6 separate regions of the Homo sapiens genome follow, and all the other regions are linked to region 1. Evidence: promoter capture Hi-C in 16 types of primary human blood cells and fetal thymus (Javierre and others, 2016). All regions are on one chromosome and are shown on one strand. The core of a region is centred on a gene start or on the middle of the fragment in contact, and the rest is flanking DNA. Distances in the headings are between cores, read along the strand shown. Region 1 holds the start of NAXD (NAD(P)HX dehydratase). Region 2 has its middle 32 kb from the start of LINC00368. Region 3 has its middle 24 kb from the start of ANKRD10. Region 4 has its middle 4.9 kb from the start of PRECSIT. Region 5 overlaps COL4A1 (collagen type IV alpha 1 chain). Region 6 overlaps ANKRD10 (ankyrin repeat domain 10).

Evidence for each region. Contacts are between HindIII fragments. The CHiCAGO score rates a contact against its expected background, and 5 or more counts as called.
Region 2: a contact is called between a fragment that was not itself captured here and the fragment with the promoter of NAXD in region 1, in 1 of 17 cell types (naive B cells). The highest score is 5.2, in naive B cells.
Region 3: a contact is called between a fragment that was not itself captured here and the fragment with the promoter of NAXD in region 1, in 1 of 17 cell types (naive B cells). The highest score is 5.0, in naive B cells.
Region 4: a fragment that was not itself captured here is called in contact with the fragment with the promoter of NAXD in region 1 in 3 of 17 cell types (total CD8 T cells, naive CD8 T cells and naive B cells); the score reaches 5.7 in total CD8 T cells.
Region 5: a fragment that was not itself captured here is called in contact with the fragment with the promoter of NAXD in region 1 in 1 of 17 cell types (M0 macrophages); the score reaches 5.3 in M0 macrophages.
Region 6: a contact is called between a fragment that was not itself captured here and the fragment with the promoter of NAXD in region 1, in 1 of 17 cell types (activated CD4 T cells). The highest score is 5.3, in activated CD4 T cells.

The regions. Positions count from the first base shown.
Region 1 is chr13:110,614,085-110,616,798 of GRCh38, reverse strand. NAXD (NAD(P)HX dehydratase) reads right to left here and starts at 1,254. Exons shown (of 10, transcript NM_001242882.2): 1 at 1,152-1,254. The coding sequence starts at 1,197. NAXD-AS1 (NAXD antisense RNA 1) reads left to right here and starts at 446. Exons shown (of 1, transcript NR_182301.1): 1 at 446-2,714. RefSeq lists enhancers at 225-274, 295-344, 1,246-2,173 and silencers at 625-784, 795-1,044. The HindIII fragment of the contact is 4,814 bases long and covers 1-2,714 here.
Region 2 is chr13:111,062,305-111,065,004 of GRCh38, reverse strand. No RefSeq gene overlaps it. Among named protein-coding and RNA genes, the nearest start is that of LINC00368, 32 kb to the left of the region's middle. RefSeq lists an enhancer at 426-956. The HindIII fragment of the contact is 723 bases long and covers 918-1,640 here.
Region 3 is chr13:110,937,396-110,940,095 of GRCh38, reverse strand. It overlaps the pseudogene PARP1P1. Among named protein-coding and RNA genes, the nearest start is that of ANKRD10, 24 kb to the right of the region's middle. The HindIII fragment of the contact is 2,483 bases long and covers 157-2,639 here.
Region 4 is chr13:110,873,854-110,876,553 of GRCh38, reverse strand. No RefSeq gene overlaps it. Among named protein-coding and RNA genes, the nearest start is that of PRECSIT, 4.9 kb to the right of the region's middle. RefSeq lists a silencer at 1,666-1,885. The HindIII fragment of the contact is 4,114 bases long and covers 1-2,700 here.
Region 5 is chr13:110,215,899-110,218,598 of GRCh38, reverse strand. The region is part of intron 2 of COL4A1 (collagen type IV alpha 1 chain); the gene reads left to right. Among named protein-coding and RNA genes, the nearest start is that of LINC03082, 88 kb to the right of the region's middle. The HindIII fragment of the contact is 1,530 bases long and covers 564-2,093 here.
Region 6 is chr13:110,890,836-110,893,535 of GRCh38, reverse strand. ANKRD10 (ankyrin repeat domain 10) reads left to right here. Exons shown (of 6, transcript NM_017664.4): 4 at 273-508. Among named protein-coding and RNA genes, the nearest start is that of PRECSIT, 22 kb to the right of the region's middle. The HindIII fragment of the contact is 9,032 bases long and covers 1-2,700 here.

The DNA of each region.
Region 1 (2,714 bases), core at 5-2,504:
GCTGGAGAATCCTGGCTAAGTCACTTTCTCTGAGCTTCTATTTATCTTCTATACCAAGGTGGATAACAGCAATCTCTCCTTATGAGAAATGAGATATACACGAACTACTTCCTGTATAAAATATGTTAGATACACCAATACCAACAAGGCAAACAGAAAGACAAAAAAACCCTATGAAGAGATGGGGCTCCAAGCACTTGCTCAGCTCCTGTTTAAATTCTTTCTACCTTATCCGTTCTATTTGAAAAGGCATCTCAGCGTGCAAGGACCAGCCAAGGCCAGGGCAGGGCCCTCGGGGACATCTGGCCAGCACTTCAGGTTCTGGGGATGACTCAGGTGAGCCTCCCTCCCCAAGGGACCTCCTACACGCACACACACACCCCGAACCGGGGGCGGGCGAAGGAGGCCTGGCTGGTGGAGTCCTTTTCTGCGGCCCAGGCGTCGCAATATCCAGTCCCTCTCGTCCAAGGACGTGCAGGGTCTGTACTTGCCCAGTCGCACTGGGACTTCAAATTGGGGATGCAGACACGGCCCTGCTCCTGGTGTGCGCGAAGCCCGCTCAGCCGGCCAGCTCGCCTGCACGCCCGCCGCGTCCCTGGGCCCCAGGAGGGCCCCCGTATCCAGCTCCGACCAAACAGCAAGCCCGCAGTTGGCGAGCATCTTTCCCAGACCGGGAGCGGGGACAGAGCAGAGCAGACGGATCCGACCAGCGCACCACGGCGCCCCAGGGCCCTCCTACCGTCCTCGGCCCTCGGCCCCCCGTTCCCCGGCCACCGCGCGGGCTCCGCCGCTCCTGGGACGCGCACTGGCTCCGGCCCGGCGCCACCCTCTGCCCCTCTGTCACCCCGCACGGAGGCTCCCATCACCCAAGCCGCGCCCAGCCGTCGCCGCGCCGTTCCAGGAGGCCTCCGTCCTCTCCCTACTCCGCCCCGCAGGCCACACGGCGCCCCGGCCCCGCGCGCGGGCTGCCCCTCGGCGGCGCTTCCCCCCCGCGAGCCAGCAGAGGCGGTCAGCGGTCGGGTACCTGCGTCCAGTGGCGGCCCGTACAGCGCGAGTGCGGCCGAGAGCAATGCGACAACGACCGCGCCGGCGACGGCAGTTCCGGCCCCCGCGCGTGTGACCATCCCCGGGCCAAATGGAATCGACCTTACCTCGTCTGCAAGCCCGGATTGCCCCACAGCGAGGACCCAGGGCCATCGGGCAGCATTCCGGATTCCCAGCTGCCCCCGCGCCGTCGCCGGAAACACAGCCATTGGAAGCGTTTTCCGGTTTCCCGACCGCCTCCGCGCGGCTGTCGGCAGTGGGATCCCAACTCGCTCAATCACACCCGGTTCTAGATGATTGACAAGCGCGACGCCCAACCCGGCCTGGTCCCAGCTCTGGCCTAAGAGGTTCGGCTGGAAGGCAGGTTGAAGAGTTAACAACGATCTGGTTCAGGGTCTGGTTTGTGTTTATCGGCCCATTTTTAGGCTTGCGGCGTTATAGAAAATGATTTTGCTGGCAGGTGGAGTGCCGAGGCCCACTATGTGCCCCCAGTATAGCAGTCAGGTGCCTTTCTGCTCCAGGCGCAACCTCTGCCCTGAACCCCAAACCAGCTCGCTGCGAGGCCCCTTCGCTTTCCACCGTCTCAGGTCAGGGCAGCTCCATCACTCCAACGCTGAGGCCCAAACCCCTGGAAGGCATTCTGACCTCTCCTGCCCTCCCACCCACGCTCCTCCTGTGGCTGATGGCCTCTTACCTCCACTGCCGCCCTATTTGAAGCCACCGTCATGGTGCTAAAAGAAACTTGTGGGGCCAGGTGCGGTGGCTCGCGCGTGTGATCCCAATGCTTTGGGAGGCCAAGATGGAAGGATCGTTTGAGCCCAGGAGTTTGAGACCAGCCTGGACAACATAAGGAGACCCCCTTCTCTACCAAAATTTTTTTGGAAAATTAGCAGGGGATGGTGTGGCACACCTGTAGTCCAGCTACTTGAGAGGCTGAGGTGAAAGGATGGCTCAACATGTCAGAGGCCTTTTAACCAGAGCGATTCCATCTTGAATAGGGACTGGGTAAAATGAGGGTGAGACCTACTGGGCTGCATTCCCAGGGGGTTAGACATTCTTGGCCACAGGATGAGGTGGTGGGCACAAGATACAGGTCACAAAGACCGCACTGATAAGATGACACAGTAAAGAAACTGGCCCAAAGCCTACCAAAACCAAGATGGCCACAAAAGTGACCTCTGTGTCCTCATTGCTCATTATTTGCTGATTATAACGTATTAGCATGCTAAAGGACACTCCTACCAGCGCCATGAGAGTTTACAAATGCTATGGCAACATCAGGAAATTACTCTATATGGTCTAAAAAGGGGAGGAACCCTCAGTTCCAGCAATTGCCAACCTCTTTCCCAGAAAACTCATGAATAATCCCCTCCTTATTTAGCCTATAATCAAGAGATAACTATAACTATGTGTGGAGTTAGTTCCTGCCGGTGGGTTCATGGTCTCACTGACTTCAAGAATGAAGCTGCGGACCTTCACAGTGTTACAGCTCTTAAAGGTGGCATAGACCCAAAGAGTGAGCAGCAGCAAGATTTATTATGAAGAGGCCGGGCGTGGTGGCTCATGCCTGTAAGCCCAGCACTTTGGGAGGCCGAGGCGGGTGGATCACAAGGTCAGGAGATCGAGACCATCTTGGCTAACACGGTGAAACCCTGTCTCTACTAAAAATA
Region 2 (2,700 bases), core at 30-2,529, 450 kb before region 1:
CCACATGTTTTACTTTCTGAGAAGATGAGATGAGCCCTCCACATTTCAAGGCTGAGAGCAGAAATGTGACCAGGTGCTGGAGCCTCCAGGACAGTGAAGGAAGGGGTCTGGGTCCCTGCTTAGCCCTGAAGGAAAAGGAGCAGCTTCCAGAAGGCAGTAGGGATGTGGGTGCTGTGACAGGCCGTGCCAGCTTGGTCCTGCATGTGGTTAGAAACCAGGAGCCTTGGCCACCAAGTGGAACCAAAATCTCCCATCCCTGTCTTGTTCTCTTTGCATAGTGTGGACGAAAAGCGTCAAGCTCTGTAAAACATTTGAAGAGGTTTATTCTGACCAAATATGAGGGACCAATGACTTGTGACACAACCTCAGGAGGTCAGGAGAACATGTGCCCAAGGTAGTCAGGCTACACCTTGGTTTTATACATTTTAGGGGGACTTAAGACATCAATCAATACAGGTAAGGTGTACATTCGTTGGGTCAGGAAAGGTGGGACAACTTGAAGCAGGGGCTTCCAGGTCACAGGTAGACTCAAAGAATTTCTGATTGGCAATTGGTTGAAAGAGTTTTTATCTAAAGACCTGGAATCAATAGAAGGGAGTGTCTGGGTTATAATAAGGGATTGTGGAGAGCCAGGTTTTGTCATGCAGATGAAGCCTCCAGGTAGCAGGCTTCACAGAGAATAGATTGTAAATGCTTCTTATCAGACTTAAAGTCTGTGTTGATGTTAATGCTGGTCAGCTGTGCCTGAATTCCAAAAGGGCGGAAGGTATATTGAGGCATGTCCAACCCCTGCTTCCCATCATAGCCTGAACTCGTTTTTCAGATTAACTTTGGAATGCCCTTGGCATTCCAAGAAGAGGGGTTCATTCAGATGGTTAGGGGGCTTAGCATTTTATTTTTGCTTTACACCAGAAGCTTCCCTGAGGGGCCTGGGCCCTGGGCTTCAGGGCCTCTGCTCTCAGGCCTTGCCCAGAAGAATGGAAGATGCAGTGAGGGACCTGGAGGAGAGTGGACTGCTGTGTGTGGGCTTCGTGGCACACAGGGAAAAGCACAGGCTCTGGGTGAGTTTAAATCCTGGCTCTGCTGCCTGCAAGATGTAAGACTCCAGCATGTTATTTAATCTCTCTGAGCCTCTGTCACCCCATAAATAAAATGAGGTAATTTCTAGCACACAGGATCATTGACATGAATAAAATAACTGATGTTTACATGGCACTTGCTACATCAGTGGCACTGATTGCTGGTCATATAAAGCAAGGAAAAAAGATGTTTCCTCTTTTTATTCATTTCTACATCCTGCCAGTTTCCCTACACATATGCATTATAGATGACGAATAATTGAGAAAATCTGCAAGGACAAGGCTCGTATTCTTCCTGACCCATTTCTTGTTCAGAGTATAAGGTAACTTGTGCCGCACGTGTACCCAATATGCCGTGGGGTTATAGGATGTTAAATTGGACATTTACATGATACAATAAATATGACATTCCAGAGTGATGTTCTAGACCAAGATTCAAATCTTTAAGGAAGGGATTTAACCAAAAGTTGATTACATAAACATTGTTCGCATCACCCACACTTTGTTATGTGCATCTGTGTGAAGAGACCACCAAACAGGCTTTGTGTGAGCAATAAAGCTTTTTAATCACCTGGGTGCAGGCTGACTGAGTCTGAAAAAGGAGTCAGCAAAGGGAGATGGGGAGGGGCAGTTTTACAGGATTTGGGTAGGTAGTGGAAAATTTACAGTTAAAGGAGGTTTTTCTCTTGTGGGCAAGGGTGGGGGTCACAAGGTGCTCGGTGGGGGAGCTCTTAAGACTCATTGTCCAGGAGAAGGAATGTCACATGGTCAATTGATCAGTTAGGGTGGGGCAGGAACAAATCACAATGGTGGAATGTCATCAGTTAAGGCATAAACTGGCTATTTTCACTTCTTTTGTGGTTTTTCAGGTGCTTCAGGCCATGTGAATGTATACATGTAGGTCACAGGGGATATGATGGCTTAGCGTGGGCTCAGAGGCCTGACACACTTGAATTACATCCCCAATTGGGTAGAAGACCAGGAATATAGTCAGGAGTTCCATTTTGTTTAGGATAGGAAGGATGTTTCTACAGTGGAGACTGGTATCTGATTCATCATTTAGAGTAATAAACAGGTCACTCTGAAGATCATCTATAAAGCACAACTTTAGATGCTTATTACTTACAGATTCGCTTCTTAGGTACCCTACTTGGTCATCTAGGCAACTAGAAAAACAAGTTGGTTTTCTAACTGACTCAATTAGAAATAAAAGTAGGGCAACTTGATCTTTAGGAAAAGAGAGTGAGCAGAGATGGGGCGGAGCTTCACCCTCAACAGTGATGCTTGTACACTTCTGCTGAACCAGACAACAGGCAGCCCACAGCCTGCAAAGTCCTACCAACGAGGAGAGATGGACCACCAGGTGGTGACCACCGCTGCCTGCTCTAAACCCTGGGGAGGAGTGGAGCAGTGACCACCATCTGCTGTAAACCCCAGGGAGAGACGGAGCTGTGACCGCTGCCTGCCCTAAGCCCCAGGAAGAGATGGAGCAGTGTTCACCACCTGCTCTTAACCCCAGAGAGAGATGAAGCCATGATTGCCGCCCGCTCTAAACCTTGGGGAGAGATGGAGCAGTGACCACCACCTGCTCTAAACCCTGGGGACAGATGAAGCCATGACT
Region 3 (2,700 bases), core at 149-2,648, 320 kb before region 1:
TTGTAGCACAGCTTGGTTTTTTCCAGAGGACTAATCCATGCAAACAGAATCTCTCTCCAGCTTGTCAGTTTTATCTACCTGGCAAGAAAAAACAAAAACAACCCCTCCCCACAAACACAACACAAAACAAGAGACTAAAAAATTTGGGAAAAAGCTTTTAATGCATTTCTGCAAAATCCTTTCTGAGGAGGTTTAGTACAGGTACTACCCACCAGCAACTTAGCCAGCCAGGTGAGTTGGTGCAGAAGCGCTTAGGGTGAATTAATACCAGAGTCACCGTGTGTGACTCAGCCACCTCTCCCAATTACCACAAGGAGGTCTTAAAATTGAATTTCAGTTTCAGCAGATATTTCAGATTTACCTGAGCAATATCATAGACAATGTACTCATTATACAGTAGACAGGTGTCATTCACACCAGATGAAACCCTGGTCCCAAGAGGAACCTCTACACCATCCAGTGGGATACTAGCTGAAAGGTCAGGAGTAGTTTTGCCCAAACCTTTGACACTGTGCTTGCCCTTGGGTAACTTGCTGATATGTGAAGCATGCTTCAGTTCACACACGTTTCCAAGGGCAACTTCTTCCGACAGGATTAACCCTATTGGGTCTTCCTAAGATGTATGGCAGTCGTTGGCACTCTTGGAGACAAGATCAGCGAAATAGATCACTTTACCAAACATGTAGCCCATCACAGGTGCTTCAGGCAGGGCTATCCAAAGACCCAGGGACAGGATCCCAGCAAAGTTGGTGGTCCTGGACCCATGCCACAGCAACCTTCAGTTATGAAGCTGCTTAAAGGGCTTGTAGTGCTGGCACTCCTCTTCACACTCTATCTTAAAGCTATCAATGACTTCCAAGTCATATGCATCGTGTGTGGTTGGTTGCATGAGTGTTCTTAACATACTTCCTGATGATCTCAGCTTCTTCAGAATCTCTGTCAACCACCTTAATGTCAGTTTTGAGCTTCTCATAGTTGACATCGATGGAGTCCTTCCTGCTATCGTGAGACCCTCCCCTGAGCAGACCGTAGGCTACCTCAATGTCCAGCAGGTTGTCCAGCATTTCTACCTTGGCCTGCACACTGTCTGCATTGTTCAGGAGCAGAGGATCCTTCATCCCAAAGTCGTGGGGGATCAGGATGTAAAAGCGATTTGAGAAATCCAGGATCTGAGAGTCGCTGCTGCCCTGGGACACCACCTGCTGGACCTGAGGATGGAGTACGCGGCCTGGATTTGCCTTTTGCTCAGCTTCCCCAAGGGCATCTGAAGGTCGATCTCACACCCCACCATGGCTTTGCTCATACTTTCCACATCAAAGATCATCTTGATGAGGTCCTGAACTGGCTTGGGGAGCATGGACTTGGTGCCAGGATTTACTGTCGGCTTCTTCACCGCCTCTTTGTCCTGGCCGTAGTCAATCTCCAGGGGGTAGAACTTTTTGGGATACTTTGTGAATTTTTGGAGTGCCAAGCATTCCTAGTTTTTCTTCATATAATTTCATGAAGTGTTCAGTGGTGTCCTCCTTGGACAGCATCTGTTCCAGTTTGTTGCTACCGATCACCGTGCCCACACGGTCCCAGGACTTGAATATCCAATGCCTGCTTTCCTTGTCATCCTTCAGCAACTTCAGCTTGTAATAGGAGTTGGTTCCTTTAACGACGTCCACCAGGCTGAGGGTGGCACTGAAGACCTTCCCACCTTTCTCCAGAACATGTGCAGAGTGTTCCAGACCAGAGTCAGGATCCACAGCTGCTCCTCCTTTAAGAGTTAATTTCATTCTCTTTTCAGATTTGTTGATACCTTCCTCCTTGACCTGGCCCTTGCTTTTTTTGGAGAGCACAGCTCCTGACTTCCCTCTTGGGGCTACGACTTCAACAGGCTCTGCCTTCACTTCTGCCCCCCAGGGGGACAAGATGTGCGCTGAGAACAACTCCTGGAGCCCCTTGGTGGAGGCAGAGAAGTCCTGGAGGAAGTCCTCAGACACAGCTCAGATGTTGGCTTCTTTCACTTCCTCCATCTTCTTCTTCTTCTTTTCCACCTCCTCTTTAGTGCTGATGCACGGAGAAGCCTTGTTGGCCGTCCCCATCAACTTTCCCCCGAGTTTCTCAATCGTGGCCTTCACTTCATCCTTGTTCCGGGAGAGCTTCCCAAGAGTAAGGATCTTCATGTTGGATAACGGCTTATCTGCTGGAGCAGAGGCGTTCATGGCAGCAGGCTCGGAGGCTGTGGAGGGTGGGGGCATGGCCGCCACTGGGTCACTGGTTTCTGGGGGGAATATACGGTCCTGCTTTTTAACCTTAAATTTCTTGAGTTAAGAGATTTCTCGGTGGGATCACCTATTCCTTCTGGTTGGGTGTCCATGTCTTGACCATACACTTGGTCCAGGCCGTGACGTCCCCGGTGCAGTAATAAGTGTCGCTCTTGAAGACCAGCTGACCTGAGCATTCCTCACAGGGAAGGAGGGCACCGAACGTCATGCTGTCAGCTACTCGGTCCAAGATCGCCGACTCCCCGGAAGGCACCTGCTGCCTGTTGAAGATGAGCATCTCCTTCAGGTCATTAATAGAGCACACTTTCATTAGCTCGTCCTTGATGTTCCAGATCAGGTCGTTCTGGGCCTTTAGGGCCTTTTCAAGCTTACCATCCTCGTCTTTTTCTTTTTTAGATTTCTTCTTGGCCACTTCATCCACTCCATCCAC
Region 4 (2,700 bases), core at 16-2,515, 260 kb before region 1:
TGGACAACTCGCAGTCAAGACCTTCCATTCAGTAACAGTAGTTTCTTAAAGGCTAGTTGCAATGTTGAATCAGGATCCACATCAGTGAGCTTCTTGTATCGTTCCTGTAGAGTCCATCTTTCACTTAGAATGGACCTTTAACCCATGCATAATTTTTTATGCATTACTTGGGAAATATTTTTTAATTGAGTTCTGCAAGTCTTTCAAATGTTGAAACTTTTCATTAATATTAAAACATTGATAACCAGCCAGGTGCGGTGGCTCACGCCCGTAATCCCAGCACTTTGGGAGGCCGAGGCAGGTGGATCATGAGGTCAGGAGATAGAGACCATGCTGGCTAACAAGGTGAAACCCCATCTCTACTAAAAATACAAAAAAAAAAAAATAGCTGGGTGTGGTGGCACGCACCTGTAATCCCAGCTACTTGGGAGGCTGAGGCAGGAGAATCGCTTGAACCTGGGAGGCAGAGGTTGCAGTGAGCCGAGATCACGCCACTGCATTCCAACCTGGGCAACAGAGCAAGACTCTGTCTCAAAAAAATAAAACATTGATCACCAATAATCTCATGAAAGTCAAAAGTTGGAAGTTGTCAAGCTCATGGTACTGGATACAAGTTTTACAACATCCTGATTTTTGCTGAAAAACTCAAATTTTATCATTGGACACAAATACTGTCAGTTTTCCTTGAAGTAGAAGACTCACTTGGTTAATTTTTTGGTTTTTTTAAATTGAGACGGGGTCTCACTCTGTCGCACAAGCTGGAGTGCAGTGATGCGATTTTGGCTCCTTACAGCCTTGACTTCCTGGGCTCAAGGGATCCTCCTGACTCAGCCTTGGAGGTAGCTGGGACTCCAGTCGTGCACCACCATGCCCGGCAATTTTTTTTTTTTTTGGGGGGATGGGGTCTCACTATTTTACCCAGGTTGTCTCAAACTCCTGACCTCAAGCAATCCGCCCACTTTGGCCTCCTAAAGTGCGGGGATTACAGGCTTGAGCCACTGCATTACAACCTGGTTATTTTTTTTTTAATCACATAGCTTGTCAATCATTATTTCAAATGAAAATGACGTTTCTGAAAAAGTCACTGGATACACTTATCGCACAATCAGCCAGAGCCGTGCTTTTCCTGGAGACAGCTGTACACAACAAATCCTTCATGCACACTTCCCTTTACATCACAGAGAACGTGTGCTGTCAAAATTTACTCATGTTTACAGCATTGAGGGCATTCTTAAGTGAAATTGGGTTTTTTTCTTTTTTTTGACTGCACGGCAGTGAAGAATATGAAGGTGATCAGGCCGGGGCAGTTTTTGCTAAGGTGCTAGTAGCTTTACCCACCATTTCTTTTGAACCCTCAGTGCCGAAGTCAACACTGAAAAAGGCAAATCACATCTCGGTAATGAGACCGTTTTGATTTTGGGGACCCCCTGAAATGGGGTCCTGGGGACCCTGGGGTTCTGCAGGCCACAGTGAGAGAACTGCTGGAATGTTTTGAATGATGAGATCTAAGCAACTAGTGATAAATACTGGAAAATGTAGACTGGGTATTCATTGAATTACCCTTTTTGACTTTTCCATAGGTTGGATTTTCGGGGTTTTATTAAGGAGAAGAAAACGGGAGAATAATTTGGAGACAGAACATGGGAAACATTGAAGAGTTTCCCGGAAAGGGGGAGCCAAGAAACAGGCAGCGGGTGGAAGGGAGGAGCCCTCGGGAGGGCGGGAACCGGGGGCGGGGCGCCGGCGCGGGTGCAGGGACGAACCATCAGGAGGGCGGGAACCGGGAGAGAGGCGCAGGGGCGGGGAGAGGGGGGTGAGCCGGGCGGTTCTGGCGCGGCTCTGCTTGGGGAACCGCAGCCAAGGTTGGGGCGAGGCCGTGGTTGGGATGGGCCGGGGCGGGTGAGGGGTCCCGGGGCGGTGGGAGGGTAGCGGGGGCTGCGGCAGGGCACGGCTGGAGCTGGGGGCTGGAGGTGGACACCACCCCAAGAGTCTGCACTGAGCAACGGTAACAGTGAGCCCGGGCACAGCTGCAGCCAGGGAGACCCTGAGTGTGCGAGTGTGCGTGTGAGGATGTGTATCAGTGTTTGCAAATGCATGTGAGTGAGCGAGCATGAGGATGTGTGTCCATGTATGGATGTGAGTGTGCAAATGTGTGCGAGGACTGGGAGTGTGTGAGAGCGTGTCAGTGTGGGAATGTAGGGGGAATGTGGAGGGAAGTGTGTCGTTGGCAATGTGTGAGTGTGCAAATGTGTGAGAATGTGAAGGGAAGCGTTGAGTATTGGATGTGAGTGGTAATCTGGTGTGTGTGAATGTGTGAATGTTTATGTGTGAATGTACGTGATGTGTGTGGATGTGTATGATGTGTGCGCACGTATGAATGTTGATTTGTGTGACGTGTGTGCAGATGTGTATGAATGTGTGATGCATGTGGATGTGTGTAAATGTGGCTGCTGTGCATGTGTGAATGCTATATGTGTGTGACGTTTGTGACTGTGTGTGTGCAGGTGTGACTGTTTTATATGTGTGGCTGATGTGCATGGGTGGTAGTGTATGTGAAACATGTTATATGTGTGCATGTGTGAACGTGTGTGGCTATTGTGCACGTGTGGATGTGTGTGAATGTTGCATGTGGGTGTTGTGTCGAGGTGTGGGCATGTGTGTGAATGTGACTTGTGTATCTGGATGTGTGTGAATGCAGGT
Region 5 (2,700 bases), core at 79-2,578, 400 kb after region 1:
TCATGTTATGCAATTGGCTAGTTCAGCATCCCATGACATTTTATTGAATTCAAACACCATGAATGAATAAAACAATTTCATTGCCTGTGAAGAAGTTACAGGGTTGAGGTGGAGAAGGAATTGCAGTTTCCCTGATAAGCATTGCTTGTTTCCCTTGGATGCACCCAGCACATGGAGGCTGCCATACCCAGTACACTCAGTGCTCAGTACCAAACCCGGTACCCGTACTCATTCCGTGCGTAGAGGAAGCCCCCGAGAGCTGGCAGCATCTCTGTGTGTGCTTCAGTCCATTGTGAAGATCCGTGATCCTAATATTTCAGATTGGAAAAATCCATTAAAATTTTGATTTAAAGATATGGATTCCATGTCAGCCACTGAAACAGGCCTTTGACAGTAAGAATTTTGATGACTGCTTATTCTAGGTATATTTTGTGTTAACATCAGTTTTTGTTGTTGGTAATTATATTTTCCCCCCACATTTAGAAGCTTCATGCTATTTTAACTTCAGCTGTCCTGGGTATTTGATTTGTATTTGAATTTCTGACTTAGCTATGACGGAAGCTTATTAGAGTATTTGCTTTCCTGAATCATGAACTTGTTTCTACAAGCATTGGAAGAGGAAGGGAAATAATTGGGTATTATAAAATGACTTTCTATCCACGCATTTTAAGGATTTTTTAAAAAGTATATGCTTGCTTTAGATAATGCATTAAGCAAGAATTTTAAGTTGCTCCATGCATGAAACCCTATTTCATGCCTAATTTACAATGCCTAATTTTGGTGCTAAGATTATTCTCCATGTTGTATTCTTTCATCTTTATAGACAATGGCACTTTGTTCTCCCTCCACAAATTCTGAATTTCATCATTTGGGGACACAGCAGTAGTCATCTCCGGCTTTGGCGTATGATTTTCCTTTTTTGATCAGTGCTCTGCATTGCACTGATGTTCAGGAATGAGAGCACAAGGTTCAGCTGCACGAAAACTTTCTGTGTAGTATTTTTCAAGTTTCTCGTTTCTTTCTTCCATTTTAAATAGTCTTTGCTGTGACAGACAATGGTTGTGGTTTTCATTTTTGCCTGACATGAAGTCTGTGGCCGCCATGGATTTTTGGACCTTGCCTTGAGCACACCATGGGAAACAGATGATCGAGGGTCCTGTTGCTCCCTGACTCTAACTGTGCACATTCTGCCTTGAGCTCCAGTGGAAGTGGGGGGTCACTGTGGTCACGTTAGTAGCATTGCCAGTTGCAGCTGCAAAGTCTGGCTTGGACCCTGCTAGCTCCAATAACCTTTGCACAACATGTCCAGCTCTTTGCTCTTCTTACAATCCTGGTGGAAATGTGCTAAAATCTTGGAGGAATAATTTGGCCCCATACTGCATGCTGGTCGCCAGCTAACTGTATAGCTGTTTAAGTGCTTATTCTGTCCGTTTGCTCTGCTCTGGTTCCCATAATAACCTTGGACAGGGTACAGAGTATTAGATTATTCGTGTGCACTTTTATCTGGACAAAAGATTAAGAACGTTAAAAAAATATGTGGGGAATGGCAAGAACCATGTCCATGGAGGAGTCACTTCCTTCTTAGCTCCTTCATTTCAAAGCTCTGGGGATACACAGATTGCTTAAACTTTCTGGTGACATTTGGGAAAGAATGTGTTCTTGCGGTAAAAGCAAGGTCTGGGAATTTGGATTTCTGTGTTCTGTTCCCAGCAGCACGAGGGGTCACCCAGTGACGTACGACAAGTCAGTTAAGCATCGGAATCTTAATTTCCCTATCTGTGAAATGGACATAGAAGGGTCGGTACCTTGGGCTGACATGAAGTTGGTGAATTGTTTGATGTTCTGCTGGGAACCGGCTTGCTCTAGTGACCCAGAAAAAACAGGGACTATGGTGGAGGCTGACCTCATTTCTATTTCTGGCTGTAGTGCTGACTCAGTGAGAAACTTGTAGAAATCAGTTAATCTGGCTCTGGTCCTCAGTGCATTCCATGGTTAAATTGAGAATTATAAAATCTTATCATCGCTGGTCTCATGGCGATACTGCCCATATTAATTAAGTACTAAAAATACTCCACCAAATGTATTAGAAAGCTTCTACATGGACCTGCCTTTCTCATTTCCTTCCTGTCTGATGTTGGGTTACTTGGGGCTACACAAGTCCATATTTATTTATTTATTTTAGCCGCTGTTTGGAGTTCAGTCCTATTCTGGTTTGAGCAGACTTTTCCTATATCCGAAAACTGGGTGCCCCAGATTGGTGACCTTGTGCACTGTAACTCCTTACAGCAGGATTTTCTGCCATTGTGTCCTGGGGCCATCACTGCAGGGTGTATTTAAGGAGCTCTTCATTTGAACAAGTCCTGGTCTGGGAATGTTTTTCCTTCCTCACTGTCACAGGCCTCAGGGAGAAGGAGCCAGCCTTCCCTGTCAAACCTTGGGATCAGGGCCCTCGTGGAGTCACGTCTGTGCTTCTGGCCGACTCCCTGGATGCTGCTGGCCTGAAGGGGCAGTGCCACAGTATGGGGCTTGAGGTTCTTTAATCCATTTACTGTTTGATTCAATTCTTTAGGGTTTGAAACAATCTCTCCCATATTTATCCACATACTGTGTCTAGACTCCTGACATATCCTTTCAACGAAACACAGCTCTATGGAGGTGTGGCGGCTGAGTCCCAGGTTCATAACGTCCTTCCTGCGTTTG
Region 6 (2,700 bases), core at 59-2,558, 280 kb before region 1:
ACATAAAACATGATTTTGAGAAGTTAAATAGGAAGATGCCTTTTTTAGAAGTTTAGCATATTTAGTTTATCTCCCAAATCTTGCTTAGAAATCAAATGTATATAAGAGAAGTTAGTTACAGAGCTAGATTGATTAACTACTTCTTTAATGAAGATTTGCTATGAATTTGTTTACTCTTTCATACCACCTTCAGATAGCTAGTCAGTTCAGCAGGAGCAGAGACCAGGTTAGCACGCGGATGGGGTGTAATTCAGTGTTTTTGTGTTGTACAGCCTGAGAAATGCCAGTGGCCTGACAGCAGCAGACATTGCACAAACCCAGGGTTTCCAAGAGTGTGCCCAGTTTCTCTTGAACCTCCAGAATTGTCATCTGAACCATTTCTATAACAATGGCATCTTAAATGGGGGTCATCAGAATGTATTTCCTAATCATATTAGTGTGGGAACAAATCGAAAGAGATGCTTGGAAGACTCAGAAGACTTTGGAGTAAAGAAAGCTAGAACTGAAGGTGAGACCGCTTTGCGGGTGGGAAGAGCACACTTATTTTTCCTTTCTGTAATATGTTTTCTTTTTATGGCTGAGCGCACCTTCGAGATGAGACCTTCACTTCAGGTGGTAATGCGCCTGGTGGATTGTGCGGTGACGGTGGAGATTTCTCCTGTACTGCCACTGCGAAGATGGGACTTAACAAAAGGGAATGTGAGGGAAATACTGATGGCCCAAGTGTAAATGTCTATGTGGAACTTTTTGAGCACCCATGTTTACCTGCCATGAATTAGATTTTTTAATTTGTTGTATCTGTTTGAAATATATCTATTAAAGAAAATCTGCCACTGTGCCTGAATTTTTTTTTTTTTTTAATTTGCTTCTTGTAAATGTTCCTGGGCTTATAAAAATTGCTGATGGTCTGGCAGTAAAACATTTTCACATTCGGGAAGGTGAATGTTTTCTGTACTATTTCTGTACTATGATTTGACCTCAGTGGTCTCTGTACCTCACATGTGTGTTGACTTATCACAGCAAGATCTGGTGTATAATTTGATCTTGAGGATTTAAGTCCCTAAGGTAAGTTATTTTCGTTGTAAGTATTCTCCCACCATTTTTTTTTTTTTTTTTTTTGCTCTGTCACCCAGGCTGGAGTGCAATGCTGTGATCTCGGCTCACTGCAACCTCCGGCTCCCAAGTTAAAGCAATTCTCCTGTCTCAGCCTCCCAAGTAGCTGGGATTACAGGTGCATGCTATCACACTGGGCTAATTTGTATTTTTAGTAGAGAAGGGGCTTCACCATGTTGGCCAGGCTGGTCTTGAACTCCTGGCCTCCAGTAAGCCACCTGCCTCGGCCTCCCAAAGTGCTGGGATTACAGGCATGAGCCACTGTGCCTAGCCGTTTTTTGGGTTTTTTGTTTTTTGTTTTTAAGGTAGGTTTGAGTTTGCAAATAAGCAGTCAGCCAGTCACTCTTGAAGTTGAAAACATCTCCCTTTCCTATAGGAAAATCATCTATATCTATATATAAGATGTCTTAGGCCAGTTGTCATGGCTCATACCTGTAATCCCAGCACTTTGGGAGGCTGAGGCAGGAGGATTACTTGAGCTCAGGAGTTCGAGACCAGCCTGGGCAACATAGTGAGACCTTGTCTCTATTTAAAAAAAAAAAAAAAAAAAAGTCTTAATAAGAAGGTAAATGTGATAGCTTGGCAGGCATATTTAGTGAACTTAGGGGGAGAGGTGGGAGTGTGAAGTAATGAAGCAGATTATGAGCTCAGATTTGCTGAGTATAAGCACAAAGTTTTGCCCGTTGGTTTAAAAAAATCAACCGTGCAAGTTACAGCATAAGGAAAACTGAGTGACTATCAGTTAATCACTTAAAAATCTAGAGATTTTGGTTAAATTTCATGAACCAACATCATCTTTTCTACCTTATTTAATGAGTGTGTCCAAGTGAAACATTTTTTCCCTATAAAGTTGATAAAATGTCAGTATTATGTACTTCACAACTATATCTTGTCACCATAAAAATTCCTGTGATAAGACTTTTTATAGTAATGTATGAACTTAACAGTTTTATCAAATTCAAGATTTTTATGAGTTAAGCATTTCTGGAAAGATGCTAAAATCATAAGCATGACATGAAGATCTGCATAAAATTCAAAATGGTCTTTTTTAATGGTGATGTATTCAGCATTGTCATTTATTTGTACCATGTTTTAATATATTTTTTCTAATGTAGTTTCAACGCCTTTTTAAGAGCATCCACTTTTTAAAAAAATCCTTTGTCATTTCCTTTAATTAAAGCCTGGTTAGTATTGTAGAGTGGCCTCATGCCCTCATGCACGAATTGTACATGTCTGTCCCTGTATGTCACTGTATAGTCTAAATGTCCTTGAAAAATGATTTATGCTTCATTTTCTCTTATTGCTGATAAATCTTAAATTCTGTTTAGTATTTTTAAAAAGAGATCACTTAACATGCTAATTGGACTCAAAATGCACCTAGAAGAGTTCGTAAAACTAGTCTCAGAGTTTCTAAGGTCAGTTGAATTGGCCAATACCACATTGCTTAATTACCCTGAAAAGCATTTCTGAGGATTCCTTGTTTCCTAATCCTCGTTAACTACATAAATTTGGTTTAAAGAGTCCTGCTGACTTTGGGGGTTTTATTTTCTTCCTTTAGAAGGAGGATTTGTTTTGGTTGACCAGTGA